Linked DNA regions of Homo sapiens: region 1 is linked to region 2. Evidence: promoter capture Hi-C in human tissues and cell types (Jung and others, 2019). All regions are on one chromosome and are shown on one strand. Each heading gives the region's core, a stretch centred on a gene start or on the middle of the fragment in contact. The rest is flanking DNA. Distances are from core to core; before and after follow the strand shown.

Region 1 (6,721 bases), core at 1,720-4,219, 280 kb before region 2:
CCTTTTGCTTTTGAGAACAGTGGGTTTCAGTCTTCCCATCTTTCCTACCTCTTCCTCCTTTCTCTAACAGAAATGTATGCTCCATGCATGCATGTACACACTTAATACATAGTGCACATTCCCATTTTAACAGTGGCTCATTTAGGCAGTGACTTACAATTGCAGGGAAAGGGGACCATACCAGATTGTGGGAATTGGGTAATTACCATATTCTCTCTGGAAGAAATACTGCCTCAGGGATGAATAACAAAGTGATTTGTGACTTCTAAGCAAATTTCCTAGTCTGCATACGTTTCCTTATCTGCAAGCTGGAAGACATTGAGTATAATAAATAGATGTCCTTTTAATATCATTTTACTTCCTTAAAAATGGAAGTAGTAGAATTGCTTAATGGAAGTTTAGGAATCCTCACAGATAACATTTACCTGATTTCACTTATTCTCCAGCTCTGCTCTTTGAAGGTAAATACAGGAGTTGGTTGTTTTTAGCAATGTTAGGGCAAAAAGATAAATGCTTCGTTTTTTAAGACATGTGTTATACATTAGTTAACCTCTGCCAGGAGAGTTGGGTTTTTTGGTATTGTTTTCTGTGCCGTCTGCCCTCTAGAGACTATTACTGGAAAATGTTTACCGAAGTATTTTGCACTGGCGATCATTGTGTGAGCCTGAGAGGGTATCTGGTTGTGTTGTGTTCTCTTACCACCTCCAAAATATTCTGGGAGGCCCAGTGTGGTGGGTCATGACTGTAATCCCAGCACTTTGGGAGGCCGAAGTGGGAGGATCACTTGAGCTCAGGAATTTGAGACCAGCCTGGGCAACAATGTGTAGTCCCAGCTACTTGGGAGGCTTAGGAGGGAGGATCACTTGTCCCTGGGAGATCCAGGTCTGCAGTGAGCTATGTTTGCACCACTGCACTCAGGCCTGGGCAACAGAGTGAGACCGTGTCTCAAAACAAAACAACAAAATGTGTAGGATATGTTCCATTAGGTAACTGGTTAATAGTTCTTATGTACAATTTCTATTAGGTGGAATTGCAGGCCATTTTTAAATTGGAATGTTAACCTGAATTTACTCTTTATGCATTTTCCCTATCCATGGGCTAGCTGAATATGAAATCAGTGGTATTTATATAAGCTGAATACCCCTATATGGGTGCAGTTATATTTAGTTTTGCTGGTATTAATGAAAAAATTTGCTGTAGGTAAAGTGTCATCTTGAGTTCTGTATTTGGACATGATTGGAAATTAATCAGATTGGCATCAAAATTTTTACCCCTCTAGAACAATAAATAATACTCAGTTCAATTGGGTTCCAGAGTAGCAAGTTCTTTGAATTCCTGCCAAATGTTGATTGGTCCATTAGCAGTCCATTGGCCACTCATTTTTCTTTACTTGAATTATATTTGGAGATCTTTTATAAGTGAAGCCTTTTTTTTTTAAAGTTAACTCTAAAAGAAGTAATAATCAGTTGGGCTACTGGAATATCCTTTAAGAACATCTGTATTATTTTCTTTGTGCTTTAGTGTAGTTTTCAGATGTTCAGTAGTAATCTCTAAGTGAGTAGTTGAAGTTGGGCTTAGAATTGGAAGTTCTCTGCATTTCTCCTGACTTCAAAAATAAGCCCTTCAGCAACTTAATTTGGAAATAGTGGGTAAGAGAGTGCGTTATGTCACTTCTTTAAGAATGGTGCACTATTTATTTAACTTATATAAAGAAAGGTGTTTTTATTTTGTTTTTTGGTGGTTTTTTTTTTTTTTGAGATGGGGTCTTGCTCTGTTGCCCAGGCTGGAGTGCAGTGTCACAGTCTTGGCTCACTGCAACCTCCGCCCCCTGGGTTCAAGCGATTCTCCTGCCTCAGCCTCCTGAGTAGCTGGGATTACAGGTGCACGCCACCATGCCTGGCTAATTTTGTATTTTTAGTAGAGACAGGGTTTTACCGTGTTGGTCAGGCTGGTCTCCTGACCTCATGAGCCACCTGCCTTGGCCTCCCAAAGTGCTGGGATTACGGGTGTGAGCCACTGCACCCAACAAAGAAAGGTGTTTATTTGACTCAAGGTTTTGGCGGCTGGGAAGTCCAAGTGCATGGCGGCAGCTTCTGGCAAGGGCTTTTTTTAATACAGGAAGTTTTTAGATTAAGCAATTACTTGGAACCTTAAGCGTACTATGGATTTTTAAAAATTTGAGTGTTAAGTACAATTGAGGGTATGAAGTAAAGATACAATAGAGCATAAAAAGGGGATTTGTGCTGGGTGCGGTGGCTCACGCCTGTAATCCCAGCACTTTGGGAGGCCAAGGAGGGTGGATCACGAGGTCAGGAGATCGAGGCCATCCTGGCTAACAGTGAAACCCCATCTCTACTAAAAATACAAAAAATTAGCCGGGCGTGGTAGCAGGCACCTGTAGTCCCAGCTACTTGGGAGGCTGAGGCAGGAGAATGGCGTGAACCCGGGAGGTGGAAGTTGCAGTGAGCTGAGATCGTGCCACTGCACTCCAGCCTGGACGACAGAGCAAGGCTCCTTCTAAAAAAAAAAAGGGTGGGGGGTGGCGGGATTTGTGTGGATTCTAATTCCTTGTGTGGGATTTTCCTTTTAGCTGTTTTTTTTTTTTTTTTTTTTAAAGAGACAGGATCTCATTGTCACCCAGGCTGGAGTGCAGTGGCACTATCGTAGCTCATTGCAGCCTGGAACTGGGCTGAAGCTCTCCTCCTTCCTCAGCCTCCTGAGTAGCTAGTACTACAGGTGTATGCCACCATGCCTGGCCTCTTTTAGCTTTTTATATAATATGTTATGCCATTAACTTTTCTCTTTTTTTTTGAGACAGGGTGTTGCTGTGTTGTTGAGGCTGGAGTACAGTGGTGTGGTCATAGCTCACTGTAGCCTTGAGCTCCTGGGCTCAAGTGATCCTCCTGCCTCAGCCTCCTGAGTAGCTGGGACCACAGGTGTGCACCGCAATGCCCAGCTAATTTTTTTATTTTTATTTTTTTGAGATGGAGTCTCACACTGTCGCCCTGGCTGGCGTGCAGTGGCGTGATCTCGGCTCACTGCAACCTCCGCCTCTCAGGTTCAAGTGATTTCTCCTGCCTCAGCCTCCCTAGTAGCTGGGATTACAGGCATGAGCCACCGTGCCCGGCTGCCCAGCTAATTCTTGTATTTTTTATATATGTATATATACATATAGTGACGGTGTCTGTGTATTTTACCCAGGCTGGTCTTGAACTCCTGGCCTCAAGGGATCCTCCTGCCTCAGCCTCCCAAAGTGCTAGGATTACAGGTGTGGGCCACCATGCCTGTCCTAACTTTTCTTTTCCTTTCTTTTTTTTGGAGACGGAGCCTCACTCTGTCACCCAGGATGGAGTACAATGGTGCGATCTTGGCTCGCTGCAACCTCTGCCTCCTGGGTTCAAGCGATTCTGCCTCAGCCTCCCGAGTAACTGGGATTACAGGCATGTACCACCGTGCCCGGCTAATTTTTTTGTATTTTTAGTAGAGACGGGGTTTCGCCATGTTGGCCAGACTGGTCTTGAACTCTTGACCTCAAGTTCTCCGCCCACCTCCGCCTCCGAAAGTGCTGGGATTACAGGCATGAGCCACCACACCTGGCTGTGATGGCTCTTTTTTAAGAGACAGGGTCTCACCCTGTGACTCAGGCTGGAATGCAGTGGTATGATCCTAGCTCACTGCACCCTTGAACTCCTGGGCTTAAGGAATCCTCCCGCCTCAGCCTCCTGTGTAGCTGGGACCATAGGTTTGCGCTACCACCCATGTTGTCTGGGCTGGTCTGGAATTCCTGCCCTCAAGTGATCCTTCTGCTTCAGCCTCCTTAAGTATTGGGATTACAGGCATGAGCCACCATGCTTAGCTTGTGATGGCTCTTAGTGTACATACCTGGGACATATAACTGTGCCTTCTTAAAAGTAGTTATCTCAGAATGCTTAGCAAGCCTCTCTTTGACTTGACTTTAAAAGCTTTGAACACTAGATCCTAACTTTTTGAAGTAAACTTTTGATTTTGAAATGGTTGAAAGTCATTTGAAGCCAAGTCTTTGGAAATAATAATTGATATGAGTTGTGTGTTTGGTCACAGTGCCAATTTAAACTGGGTTGATCTGTCTTACATGGCTGTTATGGCACTGAAGGATATGAAGCATTTGAAATGCTGACATTTTGGAATATTCATTTAAAAATAGGCTGGGGCCGGACATGGCTCACACTTGTAATCCCAGCACGTTGGGAGGCTGAGGCGGGTGGATCACCTGAGGTCAGGAGTTTGAGACCAACCTGGCCAACATGACGAAACCCCATCTCTATGAAAATACAAAAATTAGCCAGGCATAGTGGTGCAGGCCTGTAGTCTCCGCTAATTGGGAGGCTGAGGTGGGAGAATCGCTTGAATCTGGGAGGTGGAAGTTGCAGTGGGCTGAGATCACACCACTGCACTCTATCCAGCCTAGGAGACACAGCAAGACTTCACCTCAAAAAATGAAAATAAAAATAGTCTGGGTACTGTGGCTCTTGCCTATAATCCTAGCATTTTTGAAGTGAGGCAGGAAAATCACTTGAGCTCAGGAGTTTGAGATCAGCCTGGGCAACATAGCAAGTCCTGATTTCTACAAAAAAATTTGAAGCATTAGCTGGGCATGGTGGCATGTGGAGGCTGAGATGGAGGATATCACCAAGCCCAAGAGGTCAAAGATGCAGTGAGCCATAATCGTGCTGTTGCACTCAAGGTTGTGCAACAGAGTGAGACCCTGTCTCAAAAACATACAACAGTTGGTATTAAGCAATTACTTACAGATCTGTGTTGAGGTAGATTAATATGGCACCAATTTGGGTAGACTGGAAGCCATTTTTCTGTTGACTAGAAGATCAGTTTCTTGGAATAGTGCAGGCAGAGGTATAATAAAGGTCTTCTGCTTTGTATTTTCAACCATGTAAATGATCTGAATTTTAAAAAAAATTTTTTAAAAAGCTTTTAGATTGGGAAAGGGCATAAGGGAACAGATAAGATTACATAACAAGATTTGGGAAACAGGATATGAAGAGACAAATTATGATTAATCCATAAAATTGACAAGGACTAGGTGTACAGTTTGGACATTGTTCAGAGAAGGATCTGAATATTAAATTTTCTCTTCTAAACACAATGTGAATAAGTATTTTCACGTTTACTGCATTTCATTGCAATTGCTTCCTGAATGCCTATTTGACATCACAGCTGTCTTTCTAATAATCTTATTAATGTGTGCCTGCAAATTTGACAGTTTTAAGATTTGCCTTGGTTTTAGCCCTGGTTGGATTCCCTAGATTTGGAAAGGGTACTTGTTTATGAGGATATAATGATGTGGGACATATAGTAATGAATATAACAAATAATTCCTAATATGGGATAAGGTCCCCTTTCTCCCAGTGAGAGAACTCATACTGGCTGTTTAGTACCCATACTGACTGCTTGATGTTTCATGATGTCTGCTTTATGAATACAGTAATAATATATTCACCTTGATACTGGTGAAAGATCACTTGTAAGGAATTTTTGGAAGTTAAAATTTAACTTCCAGATTTCACTAGCTTAAGTCCTGAGTGTGAGGGAAATAACCATCTATGCTGTAAGAAGAGCAGACACTGTTACTATAATGATAGTAGCAAAACCAGAAATTGTTTATTACTATCATAGTAGTAGCAGTTTCATTCCAAGCTATTACTATCATAGTAGTAGCAGTTTCATTCCAAGCAACTTTTACCCTTATAAAGCACATGGGGGGCCGGGCGTGGTGGCTCAATTCCTGTAATCCCAGCACTTTGGGAGGCCGAGGCGGGCAGATCACGAGGTCAGGAGATCGAGACCATCCTGGCTAACACGGTGAAACCCCGTCTCTACTAAAAATACAAAAAATTAGCCGGGCGCAGTGGCGGGTACCTGTAGTCCCAGCTACTCGGGAGGCTGAGGCAGGAGAATAGCGTGAACCCGGGAGGTGGAGCTTGCAGTGAGCCGAGATCGCGCCACTGCAGTCTAGCCTGGGGGACAGAGCGAGACTCTGTCTCAAAAAAAAATAATAATAAAGTACATGAGATTAGAATAAGAGCAATAGAAAAGAGAAAAATAACAAAAACAACTTGAGTTCCGAGTTTCTATTTAGGAGTAGTCTGGATAATTCTTCTTATCCTGGATTGTTGTAGCTTCAGAAAAGAGTTCATTAAGGGGTCTACTGAAAAGGTGGTGACTTCTAACTACCTTAATTCAGAATTACTTGAAAGCATGCTGTATTTCTTTTTCTTTTCTTTCCCTTTCCCTTTTTGATTGAGTTTCACTCTCGTTGCCCAGGCTGGAGTCCAGTGGCGCGATCTCGGCTCACTGCTACCTCTACCTCCTGGGTTCAAGCGATCTCTTGCCTCAGCCTCCTGAGTAGCTGGGATTATAGGCTTGCATCACCACGCTTGGCTAATTTTGTATTTTTAGTAGAGACTGAGGTTTCACCATGTTGGTCAGGCTGGTCTCAAACTCCTGACCTCAGGTGATCCACCCACCTCGGCCTCCCAAAGTGCTGGGATTACAACCATAAGCCACCGCACCTGGCCGGAAAACATGCTATATTTCTCTCTGGGTATTGTCAAACTGAAAAAGGGTGGTAGAAATTTCTGACAAGCTTCTTTGTAAAAGAATAGGCACAAGTATGGCAGACTGGTTAAGAAAAAGGAAATCAGAATAGCAAAACATGGTACAATAA
Region 2 (7,571 bases), core at 2,539-5,038:
CTGGCTTCTCCAGCTTCAATGGATGGATGGGGGCTCTATGTATGTCTGGCTTTGTCTGGGCAGGGGTTGGGGTGTCTGGGATTGAAGAGCCCCTTCTTCCCTCTCTCTGGTCTCTCAAACCTAATTCAGTCACTGTAGCTCAGACACACACCCCACCCCCTGGCTTCGGAGTCAGCAGTGAACCCCACAGTTCCTACCACTTGCCACAGTGCTTGAAAACATACCTTAATGATGCCAGATTGCTCTGTTTCAGTGCAAATATCTTCGTGATGGGGTAATCCCTTCAGTATAGCCACCAAGGATGTCCTTCAGCTCAGGTGACCACCAAGCCATTCACAGCTAGGCCCCAGCCTACTCTAGCCCTTTCTCCTACTTCCCAGCAGGGACTCTGCTCCAGCAGAACCAGTCTTCTCACTGACCCAGACTAGCTTGCATTTTCCAACGCTGTGCATAAACTACACCCCCCAACTTTGAATGTCTTCCCTCTCCCTCTCCATTGAATCATAAGACTTATTTGGGCTAGGGGCAGTGGTTCATGCCTGTAATCTCAGTCCTTTGGGAGGCCAAGGTGGGAGGATCACTTGAGCCCAGGAATTTGAGACCAGCCTGGACTACATACAGAGACCTCATCTCTACAAAAAAGTAAAAAATTAGCTGGGCATGCTGGCTCATGCCTGTGGTCCCAGTTATTCAGGAGGCTGAGATGGGAGAATCACTTCAGCCCAGGAAGTCAAGGCTGCAGTGAGCCCTGATCACACCACTGCATCCCAGCCTGGGTGACAGAGTAAGAACCTGTCTCAAAAATTAATTAATTAATTTTTAAAAACATATTCAACTTGGTTTCACCCATCCATTGTGTGAAGATTTCACTGACCTTGCCTCATCCCCAAAAGAAACAATTGCCCTTTTCTTCATTATCTCACAGCACTCATTTGACACCAATGACCGGCCTTGGGCTTTAGACACTCCTCATCCCTGTTGTTTATTCACAAATATTTATTGAACATCTACTATGTGCCAGCCACTGAGCTAGATTGTGGGTAGATGAGACAGACACGGTCTGTGCCTTCGCAAAGTCAACAACTAGTAGAGCAGACAGACAATTAAGCAAGCAATTACACAGACAGGGGAAGCCCAGGGTTCTCTGGGAGCAAAAAGCCAGGTGGGGGATGCAGAGAACAGAAGTGAGAGCAGTGAGGGGAGCCTTGCAAGTCCACCCAGACTGCCACTTTCAAAGGTGCCTATGAATTGAGTAGACTATAAGCCTGCCAGCCCTGTATACAGCTGATTGTCCCCTTGGGCATTTTATTGTTCTCAATTTGTAGGTAATATCAAGGTCTGGTTAGGACGAGCCCCTTGGAGGGCATGATAGAGGGCACCTGACAGAAGCTCTGCTGTTTCCCAGTTTGGCCCAGGCTCTGCCTCAACCTGCCTAGGAACCCACTGCATAAAGGCTATGTTAACTGCCTTTAGGAGGGAGGGACAGCCCCGGTGCATTGTCATGCCCATCATGCAGTACAAGCCCATCTTCTGAGCTCAGGGTACAGTACTGTATTCTGGGACTTGTAGTCTCCATTGGACCCTCTAGGTTAGTTCAGGCCATAGGGAAGGTGATGTGACAAGTTCCAGGATGGCTTCTCTCCCCCTCCTTTATGTGCATAGTGCCCAGCCCATCAAGGAGCCCTGTTGCTAAGAGAGTCAGACAAGCCTGCCACCAACCTCCAAATCCCCATGAATCATCCTGGCAATACAAGATTCATCCCTAGGTCATGACTCACTCCCCTTGCCCAAGCTGCCTAGCCATGAGGGACCAGGAATACTAGAGGAGCCCAGGAATACTTTCAAGGAGGAAAAGAGGAATCTCATGACATTTGCCAGCATTTTCCTAAACTTCCCCCGGTCACACAACCTTCTACCTCTGTGTCTCTTCCCTTCCTCTGTTGGCAACTCTCTTTCTGCCTCCCCTCTTGCACCTTCTTTCCTGGCTTCCTCTCCTCACCCCTGATTCTTGCATCAGCTCCTCCTTCTTCCTGCCATCCTTCTGCTGCTGCCCTCTTTTTCCTCAGCTTCTCAAAACAACTGTCCAGAAATCCCAGCGTCTTCCTAATTCCACACGCCATCTGCCTGCTGCCTGGGACTCTTTACAGCAGTCATCACAGCTCCCCAGAGCCCACAAGAAGAGGGTCTGGAGAGAATCCAACCAGCAGAGTTGGGAGACTCTGGTCAAGAGGACCAAAACACTCTCTAAGGAACTTGAGCAGAAATTTCACCACCTGCTTCCAGGATGAGGGTCAGGAAGGACACTGGACAATGACTGGAGTCTGGAAGCTTTGGAGAGCAACCAAGTTCATGTAAAAAGAAACTAAACAAAAAACTGCCCTTCTCCCAGGGGCAATAGGGAGTTCAGCCCTCCTATTCCTCTACAGGGAATAATAACATCAGCCATAGGATCCTGTCCCATTGTACCCATTAAAGCTCTTCAAGTGAGCCCATCCATGAGCCCCTGCCTTTAAAGAGCAGCCTCAGGATGGCACAGCTGTGACTGCCCCCTTGCTGTCCTGTGACTCACTGGGGCTCCTCAGCCCAAGCAGGGCCCTGGAAAGTTATTTTTCCATGCCTTTAATAGTACAGGCTACACCCCTGGGCCTCCTTCAAGTCTCTATCTAAAACAGCCGTAGGGCACAGTGGCTCATGCCTGTAATCCCAGCACTTTGGGAGGCCAAGGCGGGAGGATCTCTTGAGGCCAGGATTTCAAGACCAGTTTGGGCAACATAATGAGACCTTATCTCTGCAAAAAATTTAAAAATTAGCCAGGCTTGGGGGTGCATGCCTGTAGTTCTAGCTACTTGAGAGGCTGAAGTGGGAGGATCTCTTGAGCCCAGGAGTTTGGGTGAGCTATTAATATAATTGTGCCACTGCATTTCCAGCCTAAGCAACAGAGACCCTGTCTCTAAAAACAATAATAAAATAAAATAAAATAACAGCTCTAGGAAACCCTCTCTCATGCCTATGCCATTTTCTCCACCAATTCCAGAAACCTGGGCAGAGATGGCATGAAGGGTCTGTATCGACTGTCACTGTGGCTTCTCTGGTCCTGCAGAGGGGCCAAGGCAGAGTCCTGGAGACCCAGGGCTACGTGGGGACCCAGGATACTACCTTCAGCTGCCCACAGCTTGGCCCAGGTTGCCTCCTGCCAAGTGAAGAATGTCTCCCCAGGATGCGAGTGCCACTGGCTTTTAACTATAATATCAGGATAATTAAGCTTTTCTGTGAGCACAGTTTGCTGCTGATGCAGCTGCCTGGAGCCCTGGCATTTATTGAGCGCAAAGTAATAATTTATTATCCTTTGTACGCTCAAAAGCCATCTTCATTATCGTCCCAAGACGGAACTGCCACAAGGGCACGCGGGCCTCACCAGCTGCCTCACTCTCGGATGTCTTCCCAGGTCACCCTTGACGCCCTCAGGTACCAGGATTGGGTGGAGAGGGGTGGGGAAAGTGTTGCTCTTTCTCATGGAGAATCAGAAGGCTACAGTGAGCTATTAATTGAGGTTCCTTAGCAGGCCGTTAACGGGAAAGAGGGTGGCATGCTTGGCTGGGGGTGGGCAGCGCAGAAGGGCAGGGGCCGTGTGCCCACATGAGTAGGGCAGTCGCGGTGGAGCGGGAGCCTGGGCTCCTGCCCCTGGGTCTCTGCGCCTTTGCATGAGACTTTACGGTAAGCCGCTCCTCCCGCGCCCCCGCCCCCAGCCCCGCTCGGCGATCCCCGGCGCCGTCGCCAGGCGCTGGCCGTGGTGCTGATTCTGTCAGGCGCTGGCGGCGGCAGCGGCGGTGACGGCTGCGGCCCCGCTCCCTCTACCCGGCCGGACCCGGCTCTGCCCCCGCGCCCAAGCCCCACCAAGCCCCCCGCCCTCCCGCCGCGGTCCCAGCCCAGGGCGCGGCCGCAACCAGCACCATGCGCCCGGTAGCCCTGCTGCTCCTGCCCTCGCTGCTGGCGCTCCTGGCTCACGGTAAGGGACCCCGGCATCCGGCGGCAGGACGGGGGCGGGAGCGGGGCCCCAGGGGTGGGAAGGGAGACCCGGTGCCCAGCTTCGGGCATCTGGCTGCCCAGTCCAAGCACCGCGCCCCGCCGGCTGCGCTGCCCCCGGCGCCGGCCAAGCCGGGCGGGGCGCGGGCTTCGCGGGCGGGAAGCTGCCGCGGCTCCCGCCATTCGCGCCCGGCCGAGACCTCGTCTTTAATCATCTCCCCAGATCTAATGGGATTTCTCTGATGCAATTCATCACGCCACCCACTCCCCGCACACACGCGCTCACCCGCGCGCTACCTCGCCACACTCTAGGCATCTCAGGGTGCTGGGGCGCGTGCCGGGGGGCGCAAGGCAGTGAGTCGGGACGGTCCAGCTGGCGGCCCGTGGTCCCGCTTCCCCTGCCGCCCGCCAAACTTCGCTCGACTTTGCCGCCGGTTCCAGGGCCTCTAGTGTTCTTACTGAGGGGAGACGGGGCCGGATGGCGGCCGGACCCGGGGTTGGGACCTCGCTCACCTCCCCATGCCCTGGCGCTGCCACGCCAGAGTCGGGACCTAGAGCACAATTCTAGAGAGAAACTCCAAGGGCCTGGACCCCCTATCTGGCTCCTGGCTCTGCCCTCGGCTGCAGCAGCGGAGATCCTGGGATAGAGACTCTGTCCTCCCCAAAGTCCTTTCCTTGTACACACACACACACACACACACACACACACACACACACACCACTGCCCCGAGCTCTGCCTCCCTCCCGGCCTGCCTTCCTGCCCGGCCCTGGTCCACTCCCCACCTGCAAGGCAGATTTGTCTCTGGAGGACCTGTTCCCCACACCCTGAGAATCCCCGCGCCCCCTCTAGGAGTCTGGTCCCCAACTTCGTCGGTCTTGGGTAGAGGGAAGCTTGGCCATGGTGTGAGCGGCAAGGGAGTGTTGGGGAGAGGATAGGGGTTCCGTGCCTCGGGGAAGAGTCTTGTCTGGACCTGCCGTCCTGGCTCAAACAAGCTCTCATGGAAGCTACTGGCACCCACGTCCTTCTCCCGCTGCAGTAGGCTGGTAGGGTCGGCAGAACCGCACTTGGAGTTGAGACCTGCCATCCCTTGCCATATGGTTTGAAGGGCCTGATGTGAAGTGTGAGGGTGGGAGTTTCTAACCTCCCTGCTCGATCTTTCCAGGCCGCTGCCGAGGTCAAGGCAGCGCGGCCAGGGACAGGCTGGGCCCCCGGACGGCAGTTTTCTTCATCCAGGAAGAAAAACTGTGGCCCCGGAGACGCAGAAGCCTTTTTCTGAGCCTCTAGCTCCACTTGCACACAGCCCAGTGTCCTCACCCCGCTACCGGGCTGCCCATGCTGGATCCTCCGGCAGCGCCCAGAACTTGAAACCGTGTGCTCACGTTCTGGGGAGAGGGGAAGAGTCCTGCAAGACCCACCCCAGGGATGAAGACCGGGAAGGAGAAGTGTGAATCCCTGCCTAGCTGCCTGGGGATGTCCCTAGGAATTCCGAACCTATCTTGGGTCCTGATGGGTCCTGGCGCTGGACAGCTCCCCTGGGGCGCAGGGCCTGTGTCTGTCCCCTGGCAGTTAGTCAAGGCCTTGTGTGTGAGTTTGTGGGTCTGAATGTGAGAGTAATCAGGGCCCTGCATGACTAGAGGAGCCAGTCCCAGTGTGTCTGCACTTCAAGTGGTCCGAATCTTGGGTGAGGGGTCAGCAGTGAATGGGTGTGAGGACTGTGTGAGGCCACTAGTGTGTGGGTGCAGCCTCAGCCAGAGAGCTCCCTGCAGGGCTAGAGTGAGACTGTGGGAATCCAGGAGGAAGGCTGGTGTGGCCAGGAGTCCCACCAGCCCTGATGGGGATGTGGGTGTGAGTGTTAGGAGGAATCTGCTCACTCTGTGGCCTCAAGTCTGTGTGTCCCTGGGCAGTGTCCCTTCCTGACTATCAGGATCTCCAGTGCCCATGGAGGCACCTGCCAGTGGGATATGTGGGGTAGGAGTCTGGCTGTTGGGAAAGACCTCTATTTTCACTCCCCAAGGGAGACGAAGAGGCAGCCCCGAAGTGCCAAGCCTGAGGATGAGAGGGCTGGGATGTCAGAGCTGGGTAGCCAGAGGCTCCTCTCTCCTCGGCTGGACTGGAGGTCCCAACCATTGGGATAGTGAGTCATCTCAGTGGGGAGCAGCGCATTTGGCCATCCCGGGGTTCCTGGGCACTTTAGCTTTGTGAAGGCGAGCCTAAAGGAGCAAAGACCTCAGGCTATGAGCCTTTTCGGCCCGAGGGGTGCATCCCTCAGCCTTTCAGCCCCGCCACCTCTCTGATGAGGCCCTCAGAGCTTTGCTCATAGGCAGGATGCAGACTGCAGGATGTAGCCAGGCACGGCCCAGATGCCTTGGAAGGCCTGGTATGCCGAGGCTGCGGAGGTAGGGCAAAATCGTGCTGGGCTTGGCCCAAGCTCACAGGCTCAGTCCCCTATTCCCTTCTGCAGCCTCCAAGTCTTGATTGGCGTCAGGCATCAGGGGCGTCTTGGGCCACGGGGTATCTTCCCAAGCTGTGTGGGGTGCCTGGGCCATCCAGCCACAGTGGAGGAAAAAGCGGTGTTGAAGGGGCTGCGTGTGCCGAGCCTGCTGTGTCAGTTTAATGATTTTTAATGAGCAATTACCTTTAGTCATTCTCCTAATTTCTGAATATCAATAAAGTTAATTAAACTCTGCATGTGTGAATGTGGCCTAGGGAGATTATGAAGGTGGAAGCCGCTGAGACTGGGGTAAGGTTGGGTCTCAGGAATGGAGGCTGCCTCCATGGCTGTGTGACCTTGGACCTGCTGCTCCACCTCTCTGAGCTCCACTTGAGAATGTGGTGATAGAGGGGGCCTGGGGATGGCTAGTCTGGGTTACTCACTCTGCCAAGAACTGAGGGATGATGTCTGGAAGGGAAGGTCTGGAGGAGAAAAGAGAGGAAGGACGACTCAGCTTCCAGGAGCCCTAGTGCTGCAAGGGTTAACAAACGAGGGCTGCCTTAACCTAAAATGGTAATTGCTGCTTCCTGCAGACTCCTTGGTAGGTGCTGGATTCTAACAGCACATCCATGAGTCTGGGGGCTGCTGCTGAAACCAATACTAGGTCCTGTTCCTTGTCCCCAGCCTGGCACTTCGGGATCAGGAAGTGGTACTGGGGACAAGGCCCCATGGGAGACAGTCCAGATTCTGTTCAGAAACCCAGAGGTTGACATGGCAGGCAGGAGCACACCCCCACCCACCAGCCCCGGGCTTCCAAGGAGGCTGGAGGACCCAGAGACTGCCATGGACAGGAGAAGCCTGAGTTGGCTTTTTGCTCCTCATAGGTCTAAGCTTGGCAGGCCCTGGCGGCCATCCTGGCCTCCTCAGCAGGGTGGCCGCTTAAAATGCCTTGGGGACACTGTGGGGCACTAATGGAGAGCAAGGAGACACAAGGGCTGGGCTTAATTAGAAACTGAGCTTCCATTCCCCACCAGTACTACCATGCCTGCCTAAATATGGGGAGCATATCAGAAAGCCTGCTTCCTTAGCCCCTCCATCCATCCAGTTCCAGGCCCT

The links. The method cuts DNA at HindIII sites, captures the fragments that hold promoters and counts their contacts. A contact is called where the count stands out against the background at its distance.
Region 1: a contact is called between a fragment that was not itself captured here and the fragment with the promoter of SEZ6 in region 2, in 2 of the 25 tissues and cell types used here (dorsolateral prefrontal cortex and hippocampus).

The regions. Positions count from the first base shown.
Region 1 is chr17:29,277,582-29,284,302 of GRCh38, reverse strand. The region is part of intron 2 of NUFIP2 (nuclear FMR1 interacting protein 2); the gene reads left to right. Among named protein-coding and RNA genes, the nearest start is that of NUFIP2, 13 kb to the left of the region's middle. The HindIII fragment of the contact is 8,027 bases long and covers 1-6,721 here.
Region 2 is chr17:29,002,250-29,009,820 of GRCh38, reverse strand. SEZ6 (seizure related 6 homolog) reads left to right here and starts at 3,788. Exons shown (of 17, transcript NM_178860.5): 1 at 3,788-4,006. The coding sequence starts at 3,952. All of the region lies in intron 2 of LOC105371716 (a long non-coding RNA gene), which reads right to left. RefSeq lists a silencer at 3,842-4,025 and enhancers at 5,376-6,000, 6,001-6,627. The HindIII fragment of the contact is 3,335 bases long and covers 2,796-6,130 here.